6 separate regions of the Homo sapiens genome follow, and regions 2, 3, 4, 5 and 6 are each linked to region 1. Evidence: promoter capture Hi-C in 16 types of primary human blood cells and fetal thymus (Javierre and others, 2016). All regions are on one chromosome and are shown on one strand. Each heading gives the region's core, a stretch centred on a gene start or on the middle of the fragment in contact. The rest is flanking DNA. Distances are from core to core; before and after follow the strand shown. Region 1 holds the start of SLC39A9 (solute carrier family 39 member 9). Region 2 holds the start of VIPAS39 (VPS33B interacting protein, apical-basolateral polarity regulator, spe-39 homolog). Region 3 has its middle 3.6 kb from the start of CIPC. Region 4 holds the start of TTLL5 (tubulin tyrosine ligase like 5). Region 5 holds the start of PPP2R5E (protein phosphatase 2 regulatory subunit B'epsilon). Region 6 overlaps ISCA2 (iron-sulfur cluster assembly 2).

What was found. Contacts are between HindIII fragments. The CHiCAGO score rates a contact against its expected background, and 5 or more counts as called.
Region 2: the fragment with the promoter of VIPAS39 here is called in contact with the fragment with the promoter of SLC39A9 in region 1 in 1 of 17 cell types (non-activated CD4 T cells); the score reaches 8.2 in non-activated CD4 T cells.
Region 3: a fragment that was not itself captured here is called in contact with the fragment with the promoter of SLC39A9 in region 1 in 3 of 17 cell types (total CD8 T cells, non-activated CD4 T cells and naive B cells); the score reaches 11.9 in total CD8 T cells.
Region 4: the fragment with the promoter of TTLL5 here is called in contact with the fragment with the promoter of SLC39A9 in region 1 in 1 of 17 cell types (non-activated CD4 T cells); the score reaches 5.9 in non-activated CD4 T cells.
Region 5: a contact is called between the fragment with the promoter of PPP2R5E here and the fragment with the promoter of SLC39A9 in region 1, in 1 of 17 cell types (non-activated CD4 T cells). The highest score is 9.9, in non-activated CD4 T cells.
Region 6: a contact is called between a fragment that was not itself captured here and the fragment with the promoter of SLC39A9 in region 1, in 1 of 17 cell types (non-activated CD4 T cells). The highest score is 5.7, in non-activated CD4 T cells.

Annotation. Positions count from the first base shown.
Region 1 is chr14:69,397,296-69,400,007 of GRCh38, reverse strand. It overlaps SLC39A9 (solute carrier family 39 member 9), which reads right to left and starts at 1,316. Exons shown (of 7, transcript NM_018375.5): 1 at 543-1,316. The coding sequence starts at 638. It overlaps ERH (ERH mRNA splicing and mitosis factor), which reads left to right and starts at 1,709. Exons shown (of 4, transcript NM_004450.3): 1 at 1,709-1,777. The coding sequence starts at 1,775. RefSeq lists enhancers at 1,024-1,363, 292-1,491, 1,693-2,200, 2,201-2,709 and a silencer at 1,460-1,700. The HindIII fragment of the contact is 688 bases long and covers 853-1,540 here.
Region 2 is chr14:77,456,192-77,458,903 of GRCh38, reverse strand. VIPAS39 (VPS33B interacting protein, apical-basolateral polarity regulator, spe-39 homolog) reads left to right here and starts at 1,303. Exons shown (of 20, transcript NM_001193315.2): 1 at 1,303-1,409. AHSA1 (activator of HSP90 ATPase activity 1) reads right to left here and starts at 811. Exons shown (of 9, transcript NM_012111.3): 1 at 635-811. The coding sequence starts at 714. RefSeq lists enhancers at 555-734, 460-982, 905-1,364, 983-1,505. The HindIII fragment of the contact is 4,049 bases long and covers 1-2,712 here.
Region 3 is chr14:77,093,350-77,096,061 of GRCh38, reverse strand. No RefSeq gene overlaps it. Among named protein-coding and RNA genes, the nearest start is that of CIPC, 3.6 kb to the left of the region's middle. The HindIII fragment of the contact is 1,194 bases long and covers 768-1,961 here.
Region 4 is chr14:75,659,935-75,662,646 of GRCh38, reverse strand. It overlaps TTLL5 (tubulin tyrosine ligase like 5), which reads right to left and starts at 1,401. Exons shown (of 32, transcript NM_015072.5): 1 at 1,260-1,401. It overlaps ERG28 (ergosterol biosynthesis 28 homolog), which reads left to right and starts at 1,771. Exons shown (of 5, transcript NM_007176.4): 1 at 1,771-1,872. RefSeq lists an enhancer at 1,330-1,549 and a silencer at 1,660-1,709. The HindIII fragment of the contact is 4,369 bases long and covers 1-2,394 here.
Region 5 is chr14:63,542,050-63,544,761 of GRCh38, reverse strand. It overlaps PPP2R5E (protein phosphatase 2 regulatory subunit B'epsilon), which reads left to right and starts at 1,385. Exons shown (of 14, transcript NM_006246.5): 1 at 1,385-1,983. It overlaps LOC112268140 (loricrin-like), which reads right to left and starts at 1,978. Exons shown (of 1, transcript NR_158218.1): 1 at 98-1,978. RefSeq lists enhancers at 1,070-1,279, 342-1,333 and silencers at 1,570-1,709, 1,750-1,889. The HindIII fragment of the contact is 771 bases long and covers 1,208-1,978 here.
Region 6 is chr14:74,494,936-74,497,647 of GRCh38, reverse strand. It overlaps ISCA2 (iron-sulfur cluster assembly 2), which reads right to left. Exons shown (of 4, transcript NM_194279.4): 4 at 542-2,712. The coding sequence ends at 2,648. Among named protein-coding and RNA genes, the nearest start is that of ISCA2, 2.5 kb to the right of the region's middle. The HindIII fragment of the contact is 1,823 bases long and covers 476-2,298 here.

The DNA.
Region 1 (2,712 bases), core at 67-2,566:
CTCACTGCAGCCTCAACCACTTGGGGTCAAGCGATCCTCCTGCCTCAGCCTCATTTGTAGGGACAAAGTCCCGCCACGTTGCCCAGGCTGGTCTAGAACTCCTGGGCCCAAGCGATCCTTCCACCTCAGCCTCCCAAAGTGCTGAGATTACAGGCGTGAGCCACCGCGCCCAGCCCTCCATTTATTTTCTTGATAACAATCTGGAATCTTGATTCCATGAAACCTCTGAGAATCAAAAGAAATGTTATGGTGCCTCTCTCCAGGTAAATGCACAGAACCTCAAATTTTTGTAAGCAATTCTAGGGGATTCAGAATACTCCAGGATCTTCCGTGGAATATCTATCCACCCCAGGTTAAGAATTCCACTAATGAATATGAGGTTTCTTTCTATTATTAAGTGTCATGTATCTTTTAAAAAAGATAGTCTTTCTTAATGAGACCTTCAGCTTTGAGATTTAACTAGGGAAGCAGCTTCCCTTTGCAACTAAAACTACTATCTCACAGCCATCCTGACAGCTGACAGAAAATTGAGAATTTCTTACCTCTGAGAAATTAACAGCCAAGGGAATGATTCCGGCCACGTAACATCCCACCAACATAGCCAGAGACAGCAGGCTAATGGAGATGAAATCATCCATTCTGCCCTCCTTTATTCACCCACAACCACTAGACAACAAATTTCCAGTGGCTTTAAATGGTGCTTAGGTTCTTTAAACAGGTGTGGTGGTTCCAAGAGAGTGGGCTTTCCAGTTCTTTAGGCCTTCCCACCAGCAGATGTGTTCACGAGGCACCTTCCTCTTGAACGTACCCGGCAACAGACCCTTTTTGCTGATATTAGCACCAGAGAAAGCTTACAGCAATCTAAGGTCCCAGGCTCTGGGTTCTCAGATGCCAGTCATTAGATTCTCGTGGGTTAACAGAGATGGGAAAAGTCAATGGGGAAAATGTGCGAATGATCGATTTCTTCGATTGTCGGATTGAGGGTGGCACAATGTCTTAGGCGGCGGCGGGTAAGTGACTCAAGCGAACCTGTTCGTTCCCTAGGCGCCCCTGTCTCCAAGAGGCGGCCCCGAAGGTGATCCGCCCCCCAGAGCAGGAAACCAGCCCACCAGTCCCAGCAAACTCTCCTCCGAGCCTGGGATGAGGAAAGGAGTCCTGCAGGTCTCTAACGATGGGTCCTAGGGGTTCAGCAGCAAAGTTGACACAAAGCTGTCTCTGCCCTATACCCGGTGCTGCCCATGGTACTGCACTCGACCGGGCCTTGACCCGGAGTCGCCGATACTACAGCTGCCATGGCCGCCAAGTGGCATCTCTTCATTCCATCCACTTCCGGATTGTCTAACCACCCCCTCCTTTACAAAGGCACTTCCGGGTTACAACCGACCTCCGGCCCAGGATACTTACGTTGCCGCCATTTTTGAGTAGGGCTAATGAAAGATGTCTGATGTCACTGTCTATACCGGTGATCACTTGAGCCGTATGTTTAATAACGAAAGTACGGAAGACAGCGTCTTGAAAAAAAATAATTCTTCCTAAAGCTTGGAAACTTTCCCTTACCTTTTTGCCTTTATCGAAGATGGCTGAAACAGAGTCAGTAGCTGCTCTAGCTGCCGGAAGTGACTGTGCCTCTATGATCCAAAAGGCTCTTTTGCGTTGCACTTTCGACGACTTCCGGCGGCTCCTCTCGCGAGGATTGGCTGTTAGCGGCGTTGTAGTTAAGCTCGTGTAACGGCGGCGGTGTCGGCAGCTGCTGTAGCGAAGAGAGTTTGGCGCGATGGTGAGAAAGGCCTCCGCGGCTACCCGAGTCCGAGTCCCCGGCCTCCAGAGCGACCCCAGCCCCATACGTTTTCCCCTCCCCACGAGCCCCATGCAGCGCCGCGTGATGCTCCCCGCCACTCTAGTCGGTGGATTGACCCTTCTTCCCGCCGCAGGGACGCCAGGCCTGACTCTAGGCCTCGGAGCCCCGGTCCGCCCTGCGGTTGCGCGCCCGCCTGCTCGCTCGGGTCCGGCGTGCCTTGGGCCTGAGGATGAACTCTCTCCCGATTGTTACTCGGTAGAGGGAGACGTGGGGGAGGTGTTTTGTTTTTTGAGATAGAGAGTCTCACTCTATCGCCCAGGCTGGAGTGCAGTGGCGGGATCTCAGACCCCTGCAACCTCTGCCTCCTGGGTTGAAGCAATTCTCCTGTCTCAGCCTCCCTAGTAGCTGGGATTACAGGCGCCCGCCACCTCGCTCGGCTAATTTTTTTATTTTAGCAGAGACGGCGTTTCACCATGTTGGCCAGGCTGGTCTCGAACTCCTGACCTCAAGCAATCCACCCGCCTCGGCATCCCAAAGTGCTGGGATTACAGGCGTGAGCCACCGGGCCCTGCCGGATATGGTATTTTTCCCTCCAAATGCTCTAGCCTGCTGTAGGAACAATGGGCCAGGGTTGTCTAACTATTCTCGAAGCTGACAGATCCAGCTATACCCAGCATGTGGGCCAGGAGAGGACGTATTTGCTTTGCAGTGTTTTTTCAGCTTTCGTTTTCCTGTGCTCTGCCTTTTTTTTTTTTTTCCTGTTTTTGAGACCTCTAGGTATTGCGTGTGGCGCGTCCCTCAGCCCTCGATCCTGTACTTATCTGTATTTATATCCTCTTGGGGCTGGAGGCTGAAAAGTAGGCTCAGCTCAGAGACCAGCTCTATTAGAACCCAACCGGGATGATCAGTAAGCT
Region 2 (2,712 bases), core at 54-2,553, 8.1 Mb before region 1:
GAAACTAATATTACTTTGGGAAGATTTCATGAAGGAGGGCAGTTATTTTAAGAACGGTCAGGTTATAAAACCACGGCTGCTCGGCAACCTGGAGTTCCAACACACCCGACCTGATAGTTCCGGGTGAGAGGCCGCAGCTATCTGAGCTCTGAGCACCTGCACAACACGTTCTCAATCTCCCGCGGGACCGCTGCAGCGGTCCCCTATGAATGACTTTTAATTTTACCGCAGGCCGCAAAATAGGAATTACAGACCCCTGGCCTTAGGCCTTTCACAGCTATCTCCCAACACAATCAAAGGAGGTTCCAGTCTCAGTGACTCCTCTGGCCACGTGTAATAAGCACCTCCCTGCTCGGGCTGGATGCAGCAGCCAGGGCGTTATCTCCTAGTCTCTCTGACAACCCTCCTCTGGGGCGCAGCCCTCCACGTCCATCTCCCTCCCCTCAAACACTGAGAAGGTGACCGCGGAGTGGAGAGGCCTGGGGCTACGGACCCCTGCCACAGGAAGGACCCACCCCCATCTCCGGACAGGGCTACCTCAGCCCCAGCTCTGTCCGGGCCGAGGTTCTAGGAACCCTGAAACCCTGGCCCGGCCGCAGGTCTCCCAAGGCCGGCCTGCTTTTCTGGCCCTCACCAGTGCCAGTTGTTGACGTTGGTGGCGTCCGCCCGCTCCTCCACGATCCAGCGTGGGTCTCCCTCACCCCACTTGGCCATCGGCTCTCCTATCGCGGCGCCACCAGCTCCGGAGCAGCCGTAGCCACAGCCTCAGGACCGCTTAGTGCCAGCCGCCCGGCAGCGCCTGGAAACTACTAGAAGCGGCCGCAAGCACCTCCTGGCTTGCTTTTCCCTCCACCCCCTCCCCTCCTTAACTTCCGGCTCCTCCCCACTCCCACCGGTTACTTCCGTCCCAACTCGCCGCACCGTGGGTTCCGCCTGATTTAGAGATCCTTCAGACTCCATCGGGTTCTCCCCAAAAAGCGTCCCGAAACCCAACTGCTCATACAACCATTCCTCACCCATAGGAAAACAAAGAACACGTCTCATTGCTTCCCTGGACCCTAAATCGCCCTTGCTGAGCCTCATGGGAATTGTAGTCTTGCTACGTGACTCGCTGGATAACCGCGGAAGGTCTCGCGGAAAGGAGAGGAAATGACCTAGCACGGTGCTTGGGGTTTCTGGGGGCTGTAGTCAAGAAGCCTTGTGGTTCGTCGGGACAGCGCCTGACAGCAGAGGCAGAAGAAACTACGACTTCCAGCATGCCCTGCGGTCTCGTTATTCGTGTTTTCTCTCCGCCCTACGATTATTCCCTTCCGCCCCCTTCTCTAAGCTGCACAGCCTGAATAGAAGGGCTGGTCCAGCGGCGGCGGAGGCTGGCGCTGTCCTGAGAGGGAGGGCTCTGTGCGGAAGAGGTGAGGGTGTCCCAAGCCCCTTGGGTCGCGTATCTGGCTGGATCCAGCCTCTCCGCATCTTGATCTTTTCCCCTCTTCTAGGAGGCATCCCTACACCCTATGACTACAGGCCTGATTCTCTTCTTTCAGTCAGGGCGACCCTTGGGCGCTGGAGTACGCTTGGGACTGGGGCTGCGAGTGAGCACCAGCGATTGGTTCGGAAGCGGACATTTGGTTCAGAACGAGCATTTAACTCTGCCAGGGATCCGCTGGGCTCTGACGACTGCGGTAGATCCATGGCTTCCTGGACGTTCACCCGTAGAGTCATCCTAGCTTAACTCTTGTTCCCTGGTCTCAGTTCACAAGCCTCACCTGTATCTTCCTGGCTCGGAAGATAATTGAAACCAAGTCTGACTTCTCAGTAGGTGGTTTTTGGAGTTTTCTGAGGCAGGGAGCATGTTGTGGTTTTCTTGCTGATTCTTCTGTTTTCCTTTGTAAAGTTCCTGTTCTCCCCTGAGGTCTCTCACCCTGCCTTGTGGGCTGTCAGTAAACAAGAGACGATAAAGACAAACCTCTGAAGTATTTTAAATCATGTTGAAGCACCTGTCACTCTTAAGAGTGACAATCGTACCTGATTACTTTATAACTCTAGAGCCACTAGATCATTATCTATACTTGCCAAGTAAACCTAGCTTCTCATTTGGCGTTATAAATACAAATTGATGGCAGTTGTCTACTGCCATTGCATGGTTAAAAAGATTCCAGAAATCCTCTGGTAGATTATTGTGTTTGTTAGACACATTCTATGTCTATCTGTAGATAATTACTATAGTGAAGGAATGATCTCTAGTTTTCTGGAAAGTGAAAAATAGGTAGAAGGACCATGCAAGACACTAGAAATGGTCTAGGAGCCAGAAAGCCTGGATTGTAATTTGAAATAGGAGCATTTAACAAAGTGGCTTTGATACTGAACTCTTTTGTGCCTCACTTTCCCCATGAGTAACATGGAAATGGAATCTCCCAGGCCTACCTTACAAGATTGTTCTGAGGATCAAACGAATGACAGAGTGATTTATGAACTGACATGTGTGCCAGAGACATTTATATGTTCTATACACATCTTCAGCATTTGTGGCTACTCAGAATTTTTGTATTTTTTTTAATCTTTAGGATTGCTAAAAAATATTTTCTTTTTTAGCTTTTCCCAAGGTACCAGGATGATGTATTAATAATAAAAGTTACTATTGAGTGTTAATTTTGGGTCAGGCACTAAGCACTTTACATGTATTAACTGGTTTACTCCTCAGAACCATTTCTAAGGTAG
Region 3 (2,712 bases), core at 115-2,614, 7.7 Mb before region 1:
AAGTGGGAGTTAAGCTATGAGGATGTAAAGGCATAAGGATGATACAGTGGACTTTGGGGACTCAAGGGGAAAGGGTGGGAAGGGGGTGAGGGATAAAAGACTACAAATTGGGTGCAGTGTATACTGCTCAGGTGATGGGTTCACCAAAATCTCACAAATCACCGCTTAAGAACTTACTCATATAACCAAAATGCCACCTGTTCCCCAAAAACCTATGGAAATAAAAAATTTAAAAAACAGCAGCATGGATACTAGGCTTAATACCTGGGTAACGAAATCATCTGTACAACAAACCGCCATGACACAAGTTTACCTATGTAACGAATCTGCACACGTATCCCTGAACTTAAATAAAAAACAAAACAAAAATAAAATTCAAAAAAAAAAAGAATAAAAGTCTGCCTTCAAATAACTTACAATCTGATATGGGAAATAAGACATGATGTAATAAGCAATATGAAAGAGAATGGGATAACTACCAAAAGATTCTGAACAAAACAATAACATTAAGGGAGAAAAAAAAAACTTTCTTTTTCGGTTGTTGGAGTAGAAAGAGACCAGCAGGTAAAGCTTTAAAGACAGCTTGAAAGTTGGGTTTGCAATAATGGAAGCAGGTGAGGGGATAATGCATACCAAGCAAAAAAGAATCAGTGAAATATGCGAAAGCATGAGGCCCTCTTAGTCCTCCGAAGGGGCAAATAAACCAAACTTCCTTGACTTTACCTACATCTTGAGCAGACAGCCATGCTGTACCAATAACTTAAGCTTCAGACAAGTATTGTAATGGAACCAAATGAATCAAGACTAATGATAGGCATAATTTTTATGATTATTTTATGCTATGATTCTATATAATTAGATATACAGAATAAGCAATTCATGAAGATTGATAGTGAATATTTTTATGTAGCTAAACCACCGTAAACGTTTTTCTTCCTTTCCTATTAATTTACCAAGATTTGTAAATCAGCATCTATTGATAGTTTACTGGTGCCACGAATTCTTTAACCTTCACTCACTTTACTCTCTTTACTCTTGGTTGGAGTAAGGACCCTATGATGGATGGGGTAAGGACCCTGTGATGGATAGTGGGTTCTGAAGCACCTATTCTTCTTGCTGTAGGGTCCTTTCCAATTCAAGTTCTCCCCAGTACCATTGTGGTCTAGGTTCGGTTTCCTACCACCACAACCAGCAGGGGGAGACATGCGCCCTTAAATCCTACATTTAGGGACTTGCGAATGTTTCTTTTTTTTTCCCATCTACTTCTTGAAATTGTAACCTGCCTATCCGTGTGAGGATTTGAGTTTTTAACCCTGCCTAGGATACCATGAAGAGTCAGCCATGGGCCGAGTTTTATTTGAAGATATTTTAAGTGTATTATGTTATACAATTTAAAATATTTATAAACGATTGTTTAATAATTGTTGAATTTAAAATTAAAGTCATTTAAAAATATTTAAAAGTGGGCCAGGCGCAGTGGCTCACACCTGTAATCCCAGCACTTTGGGAGGCCAAGGCGGGCAGATCACTAGGTCAGGAGTTCAAGACCAGCCTGGCCAACGTGGTGAAACCCCGTCTCTACTGAAAATACAAAAATTAGCTGGGCATGGTGGCATGCGCCTTTAATCCCAGCCACTCAGGGGGCTGAGGCAGGAGAATTGCTTGAATCCAGGAGGCGGAGGCTGCAGTGAGCTGAAATTGTGCCACTGCACTCCAGCCTGGGTGACAGAGCGAGACTCCGTCTCAAAAAAAAAAAAAAAAAAAATTTAGAAGTAATTAAAATAGTGTAATAGGAGACGGTGAAAGTCAGTGATCTAGTTTCAAATTCCAGCTCCTATCAATATCATTTTACAAAAGAAGGGTCATTTTGATATCTTTTCCGTATACACAGAAGGGAAGATAGGACATAACCTCACAATTTAAAAATAGAATAATTTCGGGTGTATGAAAAACTTAAAGCTTTTAGTCTTATTTTTCCAGTTTGGCTGAAGACTGGTGAAAACATCACCACAAGGACTGGCAACAGTTCTTGGACTGGTGTTTGGGAACCATTGATTTCATTTTCCTGAACCTCAGTTTGGCCGTCTGTAAAATAGTTATCCTGTAGTTTGAATCTAGCATCTAGCATTATTGGTGCTGATCACTTCATAAGTCTTTAAATAGGATTTGATGGAGTGGTAAGTGTGTCTCATGGGTCAGTGAGAGAAGAGAGGGGCTCCAGCCTGTGTGGGCAGGGGGATCTACAGGTGCCAGATGGCAGAGGCAGAGGCCAGTGATAGTGGGATGTATGACCTTTTTTCCCTTAGCAGTCAGGTAACAAGGCCCTCACCAGCCAGACTGGTTCTTGGCTCATATTTTAGGGAAGTATTTGGCAGAGCAGGTACACTAAAAGGGTAATATTCAGGTTATGGTCAGGCTGTTCATATACAGGTGAAGGTTTTGATTTTAGAGACAGTGTAAACCCTTCCCACATAGCCCTCTGTCTTCTTGCTGATACTTGAAATTCCTTTAAGGAATTGCTTGACACCAAGATACTCTAGAACCCAAGACAAATTCTTCCATAACAACACGTAGTGCTTATTATTTGCCAGATGCTGTCCTAAGTGATTTGCCTACATTTATTCATTTAATCCTCCCACTGTCTATGAGATGGGTGTAGTATCATTATTTTCTTTTTACAGAGCAGGAGGCTCAGATATGGAGGCCCACGTC
Region 4 (2,712 bases), core at 152-2,651, 6.3 Mb before region 1:
CCCTTGCAGGCCGGGCAGGGTGGCTCACGCCTGTAATCCCAGTACTTTGGGAGGCCAAGGCGGGCGGATCACCTGAGGTCGGGAGTTCGAGACCAGCCTGACTAACATGGAGAAACCCCGTCTTTACTAAAAAAAAAAAAAAAAAATACAAAAAATTAGCCGGGTGTGCTGGCTCATGCCTGTAATCCCAGCTACTCGGGAGGCTGAGGGAGGAGAATCGCTTGAACCCGGGAGGCGGAGGTTGCGGTGAGCCAAGATCGCGCCATTGCACTCCAGCCTGGGCAACAAGAGTGAACTCCGTCTCAAAAAAAAAAAAACAACAAAAAACCCCTGCCAACATTTATTTAGACTCTATGACAAGCACGCTGACAAGATGCCATCATGTTTCCAGTAAAATAAATTCAACAATGAACCGAAAGATGAATATATTCTCTTGAATCAAAGGTCCATATAAATAGGTGGGGGAGGGGAGGAATGCCCTTCCACTCTTAAAAATTATTCTTCCTAAAAATCACAAAGTTTGGTACGACTCTCAAATAGACGATGAAATTAGGAAATTTCCAACACTGCATTTCTAACTTAAAATATTTTTTCTAAAGTAAAAAAGTACATGTTCGTTGTGTGTGTCAGAAGAAGAAATAGGAACTACAAATAAAAGAAACATGTTTAAATGACCATAATCCCAAATTACTCAGCGATAATTACTTGCTGTCAATCCTTCTTAACTTTTCCATGCATTCATAAATACGATGAGACTGTAAATAAGACAAAAAAAAAACAGACCCCGATAATGATCAAAGATCTTCGGCGCAATAGGCAATGTCTAACAACTTCAATGGCTTTCTTCAGGGGATTCTCAACGGGATTTCTTGATCTTTCCCAAAATGCTGGGAAGCCCTTTAAGTTTAAACAAACAAAACCTCCAAACGGGAAGGGATGCCAACCTCTCCTAGGCTGCCTGCAGAGCGGGGAGAAACAGGTCTATCGGAAGAAGAGTAGAGATACTCACCTAAGGAGACTCCTCTCCCGAAAGGAATCTGCTTCTCAGCCCCACCCCCAGCTCACCCCAATCCCACGTAGGTCCGCAGATGCTCCCCCCGGGAAGGACGGGACGACCCCGCAGCCGCGATTCAACGCGGCGCGCCCGGAAGCCAACAGCTACTCCCGGGCTCTGAGCGGGAAGTCCTGCTGCAGGCGCCAGCCCGGACCCGGGAATGCTCCTCCCTAGGGTAGGGAAGCGCGCGGGCGCAGGCGTTTACCTGTCTCATCTTCCCATGGTTCGGGGCGAGCAGGCGTGGACCGCGCTCTGCGCCTACCTCCCTCCTCCTTCCCCAGGAAGGCTCAGGGCAGCCGCCGACGGCTGCTTCCCCGGTTACTACAACAACCAACAAGCAACCGCCCGCTCGGAGCCACTGCGCAGGCGCTCATAACGCTCAGCTGCGGACGCGGGCGAATGTCGTCACCGCCGCGCAGCGCGGGCGCAGAGCCCTGCCCTCAGCTGAAGGGAGTCTTCTTTTTTTTTTTTTTTTCCGCTGTTTTTTTCTCCGCCCCTAAGAGGTTGACTCCAAACCCGGAGTTCCGCTAGGTCCAACAGGAGGGCTTACGGCGTGAGCGGCGTACCTGGGGAGAGGCTTAGGCAGCGGCAACCGCTGATTGGCAGTAAAGGGGTTCACTCCCCATCTCCTGCTCGGGCGAAACCGGGACAGCCAATCAGAGAGAGTACTGACGGAAACGGCCCAATCCTGGAGCAGGGCTGAGGGAGGGGGCGGGGACAAATGGCTCAGGTGGACTCCGGGCTGGAGCTGTCCTGGGGGAGCTTGTTTGCGGCAGCGGCTGCTGCTGCCACTGCTGTGCTGGGGGCCCGGTCGCCAGGTAAGGAGAATATGGGGGAGAAGAGGGATGTAGGTGTCTGTGTTGCTTCTGATTGAGAGGATCCGGAGAGTCTGGAAAAATGGAGGTGGGATGGAAGGAAGATAACTGGAAGGCAACCTTTTGGGGGGAAAAGGTTTCGAGAGGCGATGACAAGGGGGAGCTAGGAAGATGGAGAAGGCTTGGTGAATTCAAGGAACGAAGGAATGGATGAGCGAATGAGCAGCCACTATGAGCCTAGCACTGTACAAAGAGCCTTCACTTTTTGTCATATAATTCTTACAATAGCCCTTCGGGTTGATATTTCTATCTCCATTTTGCAGATGAGGAAACCGAGACTGAAAAGTGTAAATGACTTACCCAGGGTCACACAGCTACTAAGTGGTAGGGCCAGGATAAGAATCCCTTTCTCCTGATTAAGTTTTAACAGCACACCTATGCTGGGCTGGGCTTGGCTGGGCTGGGCCAGGGCCAGGACAAAATTTGGAAATAGATGTTGTATACACTCTAAGAGGCCCTTAAGCTTTAGGGAAATTAGGTTGAGAAATTGGCAGAGCAATTCAGAAGTGCTCAGGCTCTGTCCTCATCAGCTATCTGTTGGGATTTCTAACAGATAACACTTCTGTGAAATGGAAGGCATACTTGTGCAGAAAAGTGGAGAGGTGCATCCATGCAGCTTTTCTAAACCCCGGAGGAGTCTCCTCTTGAGAGAGAGTGAGAAAATAAAGAGGATGGGTGGATCTTGGCCCAAATGATAATGGCCTGTGATGTCCAGTAGACCCTCAGTCTCTCTGATCTTCGACAGAGACCACCTTTGTGATCCAGCTCTCCCTGAAGGGCTCA
Region 5 (2,712 bases), core at 136-2,635, 5.9 Mb after region 1:
AAATTATTTTTCCACTCAAGAGCCATTTCTGGGAGTGTGCAAAGAAAATTTCAAAACTCTAGTGTTTAACAACACAAACAGGAGAAATGCAAATGCATTTTTCGTTGTCACTTGTACATATGGTACATATAGTTTTATTTATATATAGCTCTATTCCCTAACCGTATCGAAAAGATGATATAATGCTGAGGGAAAAAACTAGGCTACAGATCGACACACATTATTAACATAAAGAGAAAAAATACTAAAAGGAAGTATGCAAATACTGTAAGTGGTTATCTCTGAGTTGAGAAAATAAGAATGTTAATTTTTTTGTCCCCCCCCCCAATTTCTAAGTTTTGAACAACTGGTACTCTGACGTTTGTAGTTAGCATTAATAATTTCTTTCTTCCTTTTTTCCTCTCAAAAAATGTACGTAGGGTGCATTCAAATACATTAATCCAAGAATATTATCTGGAAATGTACCATTTGGCCGTCTGCATTCACCAAGCATGCAAACACATCTCCAAATATCTCATCACTTGTTCTAGATAGATTTAAGTAGTCTTCTCCATTAACTCTTTCGGGTCCAACTTGCCAATTAAAATCTCGAAACTCCTAGTTTGGAGCTGGGTCTTTCCGAGCTCTGAGCAGTCGGCTGACTGGCGGGTTATTCTGAATGAATAGACTGCAAACTGTGGCGACAGCGTTCCCACCTGCATTAATTAAACGAGCGCTGGCTTCAACGCTACAGGGGTCTGATATTCAAAACAGACGTTTAAGGAAAAGGAGATGAGGTGAGAGAAAATTCGAAGAAGGTTCAGCGGAGAGCGACTGCTGGGGGTTTCAAGGGGCCCATTTACACAAGCAGTGGCACACCGGCACGGGCGGGGGATCTTATTCCTGCCTACGCATCACAGGGTCCCGTCCAGAGTGGGACTCCCCAAACCCTGAGGGGCCACACTAGCTGCAGGGCGGGATCAAGTCTCCGGGGCTCCCCGACCCTTAGACGACCCGAGCCCTTGGAATCCTCCGGTCCAAGACGACCGCCGCCCAAAGGCTCCGCACAGCACGGAAAGCCAGCCCGCTGATCCGCTAGTCGCACACCTCCCGGAATTAAAGAGCTCCTCTCAGGCCCAGCGGCTTCTCACTTCAGCTTGCCCCACTGCCGGGCGGAAGCGGCGGCTGCACCGCCCGAGATCGCGGCTGCATCCGGGTTCCTCAAGCTTCGGCCCAATCCTCGACCTTCTCTCTTCCCACCCTCCCGTTTCTCCGCCCTCCTGCCGCCAATCCCTGATCAGGTCTCAGCCGAACATGCTGTCAGGGGAGTGAAGGCGGATACTGGCCAATGAGGCCTCGCTTCCCGTTTGAAGTCTCCAGTGGGCGGGCGCCGGAGGCGGGCGCTGCTGGCCAGAAGGTTCGGTTGCGCGTGTGCCATGGACTCAGCCGCCCGGTGATATTGACAATAGGAGAGAGAAAGGGGCATTGACTGGGACCCACCGCGGGTAGCGAAAGGTGGCTCTGGCAGCGGCGGCTCCAGCTCCTGCGGCTCCTCCTCCTTATTCTGTCCCCTTCTCTTGCTGCCGCTGCAGATCCAGTCTTCCTCCCTCCCTTCCCCCCCTCCCCACGTCGTCGCCGCCGCCGCCGGGTCCGGGGCAACGAGCTGAGGCGCCGCCCGCCAGGAATGTGAGCGAGGAGCCACCGGCGGAGCCGCAACGGGGTCGGTGCCGATTTGATGGGACGGGCCCGCGGGGGAGGATCGTGAGGCCGCCGCCGCCACCGGAACGCTGAGGTTCGGGTCCGGCCGTGAGGCCTAGAGGCTCCGCCGCCGCGGAACCGGAGGGACCCCGTACCGGACAGCCGTCGCCCCAGGCTCCCCGCAGCTGCCCGGACCTCCCCCTGCACGTCCCGGTCCCGCCGCCCGCCCCCGCTGCGGCCACCTCGCCCGTCTCCCGCCCCTCCAAGCCACAGATCATCTTTGGATTCTTCCCCAGAAGCTTCAAGGTAACTTAGTCCCTCCAGCACCGCGGCTCGCCCGCTTCCCTTCTTCCTCCCGGTCCTCCTGGGGAACCTATGGGGCACCGGCCTTGGGAAGGCCTGGCCGGGCAGGCGAGGGGTGCGGTGGGGTGGGGTGCGGGAGCGGGAGCGCCCGTCCCACTTGTCTGATTTACCTACAAATGCTTCTGATGATACCTCTCATTCACTCTGCCCCCTCCCCCCTTTTTCTCCACCTTCTGGGATTGGAGGCGTTTTCTTGCCCCCCTTTATCCACTGGCGGGGGCGGGGAATAAAGAGGGGTTTGGTGTGAGGAGGATTCTCTAGCAGCTTATCGTCTCCAGGGCTTGGGGTGTGGGTTAGGAGCAAAGGGAGTATGTAAGCATCCCCACAGACAAACCCCTTCCCTGTCTTTCCCTACTTCCCCTTACCCCCTTTGGATTATCCTGAGCCATGGAAATGCCCCATGCCTGCTGATTAGAGGATGATAAAGCTTCGGGAGCCCTGGCCCAGGGCGAAACCTGTTTCCCTGGGCTTTGCACGGACCCGCTGTTACCTTACGTTCAGTTTTGCAGTGCTTCAGGGTTGCGATCCTTGACGTTTATTCTGGGCCTCGGGCATAAGGGGTAAATGATTTTTTTAAAAGCTACCTATATATCGTCTGTAGAGATGAGAGATAAGGAATAAAGAAGAGACGAAAAGAGTGATGGAGGAAGAGGATTTACTGAAATGTTGTAG
Region 6 (2,712 bases), core at 138-2,637, 5.1 Mb before region 1:
CGAAGAAACTATGGGTGGGCCAGGCATGGTGGCTCGTGCCTGTAATACCGGCACTTTGGGAGGCTGAGGCAGGAGGATTGCTTGAGCCCAGGAGTTCGAGACTCCTGTGCAACATGGTGAAACCCCATCTCTACAAAAAATACAAAAAGTAGCTGGGCTTGGTGGTGTGCACCTGTAGTCCTAGCTACTTGCAGGGGCTGAGGTGGGAAGATTGTTTGAGCCTGGGAGGTAGAGGCTGCACCTCTGCACTCCAGCCTAGGAGACAGATTGAGACCCTGCCTCAAATAAAAAGAAAGAAACTAAGAGTGGATGGGACACATAATTTACATACCCTTGGTCACTCTCATCACATAACTCAAGTATGGTACCACAATAAGATCTGGGCATTGACCAAGAGACCTTCTCTTTGAAAAACAACATAAAGTCTCCACCAATGGAGACTTCCTGCTGCCACTTCTGGTTTCCCAATGAAGCTTTCTCAGTGTGAAGTAACATGATTTTCCCAAATCCGCCTTTTTTTTTTTTTTTTTTTTTTTTGAGACAGAGTCTCACTCTGCCACCCAGGCTGGAGTCCAGTGGTGCAATCTTGGCTCACTGCAATCTCCACCTCCTGGGTTCAAGTGATTCTCTTGCCTCAGTCTCCCGAGTAGCTGGGATTACAGGTGTCCACCACGCAGTTAATTTTTGTATTTTTAGTAGAGATGGGGTTTCACCATGTTGCCCAGGCTGGTCTCAAACTCCTGACCTCAGGTGATCTGCCTGCTTTGGCCTCCCAAAGTGCTGGGATCACAGGCGTGAGCCACCGTGCCCAGCCCCAAATCTGCCTTTTTCTAAACATAAAATTCCAATTCTCCCATTAACAGTAGATACTCACATATAAGCTGCATTCTAAGGGACTGTTTCTGTCTAGTGCACCACTGTAATTTGATTGATTTAGCAACAAAAGCTGTTCTGCTCGTGCTCAAGAGTTTTAAAACCACAAAATCAATAAATAACCCACAAAAATATTCTTAAAGAATATATTCTAATGTTTAAAATGTAGCAAAATCTTTTTAAGGAGGATGAAAGGACAGGTAGTCTGAACTGAAACCCTATCAGGCGCAGGTACTGGCGGCACTGTCTTGGTCATGTGTGCACACAGATGCTCCCATGGTATGCTGCTTTCTGCCTCCTTCCACCAGCTCTAAGAAATGTGCTCAGGTTTCTGAGTGTCCCCTTCTCTCCTCTAACCGCATGATAGGTTTGTTTTCTCTAAGTCCTAGGTTTTGCCATGTTGGAAATGTATCTAAGTTTCTGTCTCAGATATTTTCTAAACTCTATTTCCATTTTTTTAAATAGTAAATTCTTACTAAATGACCTTAATTCCAATCCAGTGCAGAAATGCAAGTCTTTACTGTAACAAACTTCTAGGCTCCCAAGCAAAAGATGGATTTAACCAGTAACTCTTCCAGAATCAACTTGGTTGTAGTTTCTCCAACATCAGTATTAATAAATCATTCGGTGTGGTGATGGTGGTAGATTTCTTTCACTGTCTGTCCACACAGCTCCACAGTACTCTAACAGGATTATTTCAAGCTCCGAAGCCTATTTAAGTGCCACACCTACACAAGTACTTTAATTCACTAGAATTTGTGATTTTAAAAGCTGTTTGGTGACCCTAAAGCAGAGTTGCCAAGGTCAGCAAATAAAAATATGAGTTAAATTTGAATTTCAAATAGTAATTTTTAGTATATGCAATATTTGAGACATATGCATACTAAAAAATTATTTACCTGAAATTCAAATTTAACTGGGCATCCTACATTTCATCTGGTAACCCAATCTAAAAAAAGGTTCCCAAGAATCTATTACCTATAACAATAAAGGGATCACTTCCTGCTGTGCATGAGACCAGAGCCATTTTACAACAGAAGGCAGGTAAAGCAACATATCCTAAAAAGATTCAGTCATTAAATTGTCACAGAATCTTAAAATGTCTGTATGAGTAGGGAGGCTATTTTTGAAATAATTCACTATCAGTGAGGGTTTGGTCCAAGTTTTCTGGGTAACGGGCTCTTGGTTTTATGACTCATAGCAGATCCACGAGCATGAGAGTAAAATGTATCTGTCCTATCAAACAGGAAGTGGCAAATGGGTTGCATAGACAATAAAGATAAGTCAAGTGGCACATTCTGGCAGGGTGAAGTGAAAAAGAGAACATTTCATTTACTTTTCTCATCCTCTAATAACTGGTGTCCAAGCTACCCAATCTGTGACCCTGATCCACAACACAATAAGAACCTTCTTTAAAATGAAGCTTTTATACATAGCTATCCACATATGTACAAGCAGCTCTTAAGGCAAGAGAAGTTAATTCCAAATTTTAGAGCCATGGAGGCTCTACAGATTATACGGAGTTTCAACCAGTGATTAAATCTGAGGTAACAGCATCTGGAGGCTCAGCCTTAGCACTGAGTGGAGGGAAAAATTAAGCCAAGAGTAAAATCTTCACATTCTGAAAATAATAGTGGCAAAACATAACACTCCTGGACTGCGGGAAATAAAATTGAGAGGGACATGATTAGAAGTAAACTTCTAGAATTCTACTAATTCCAGGTTCTTCAAATTGGTACAACTGGTGACAATCCCAGAGTCACCAGTCATCACATCAAAGTTTGATAGAGAAAGATGACCCACAGGAGCAGCCTTGCTGTGCTTGAGGATTGTTCAACA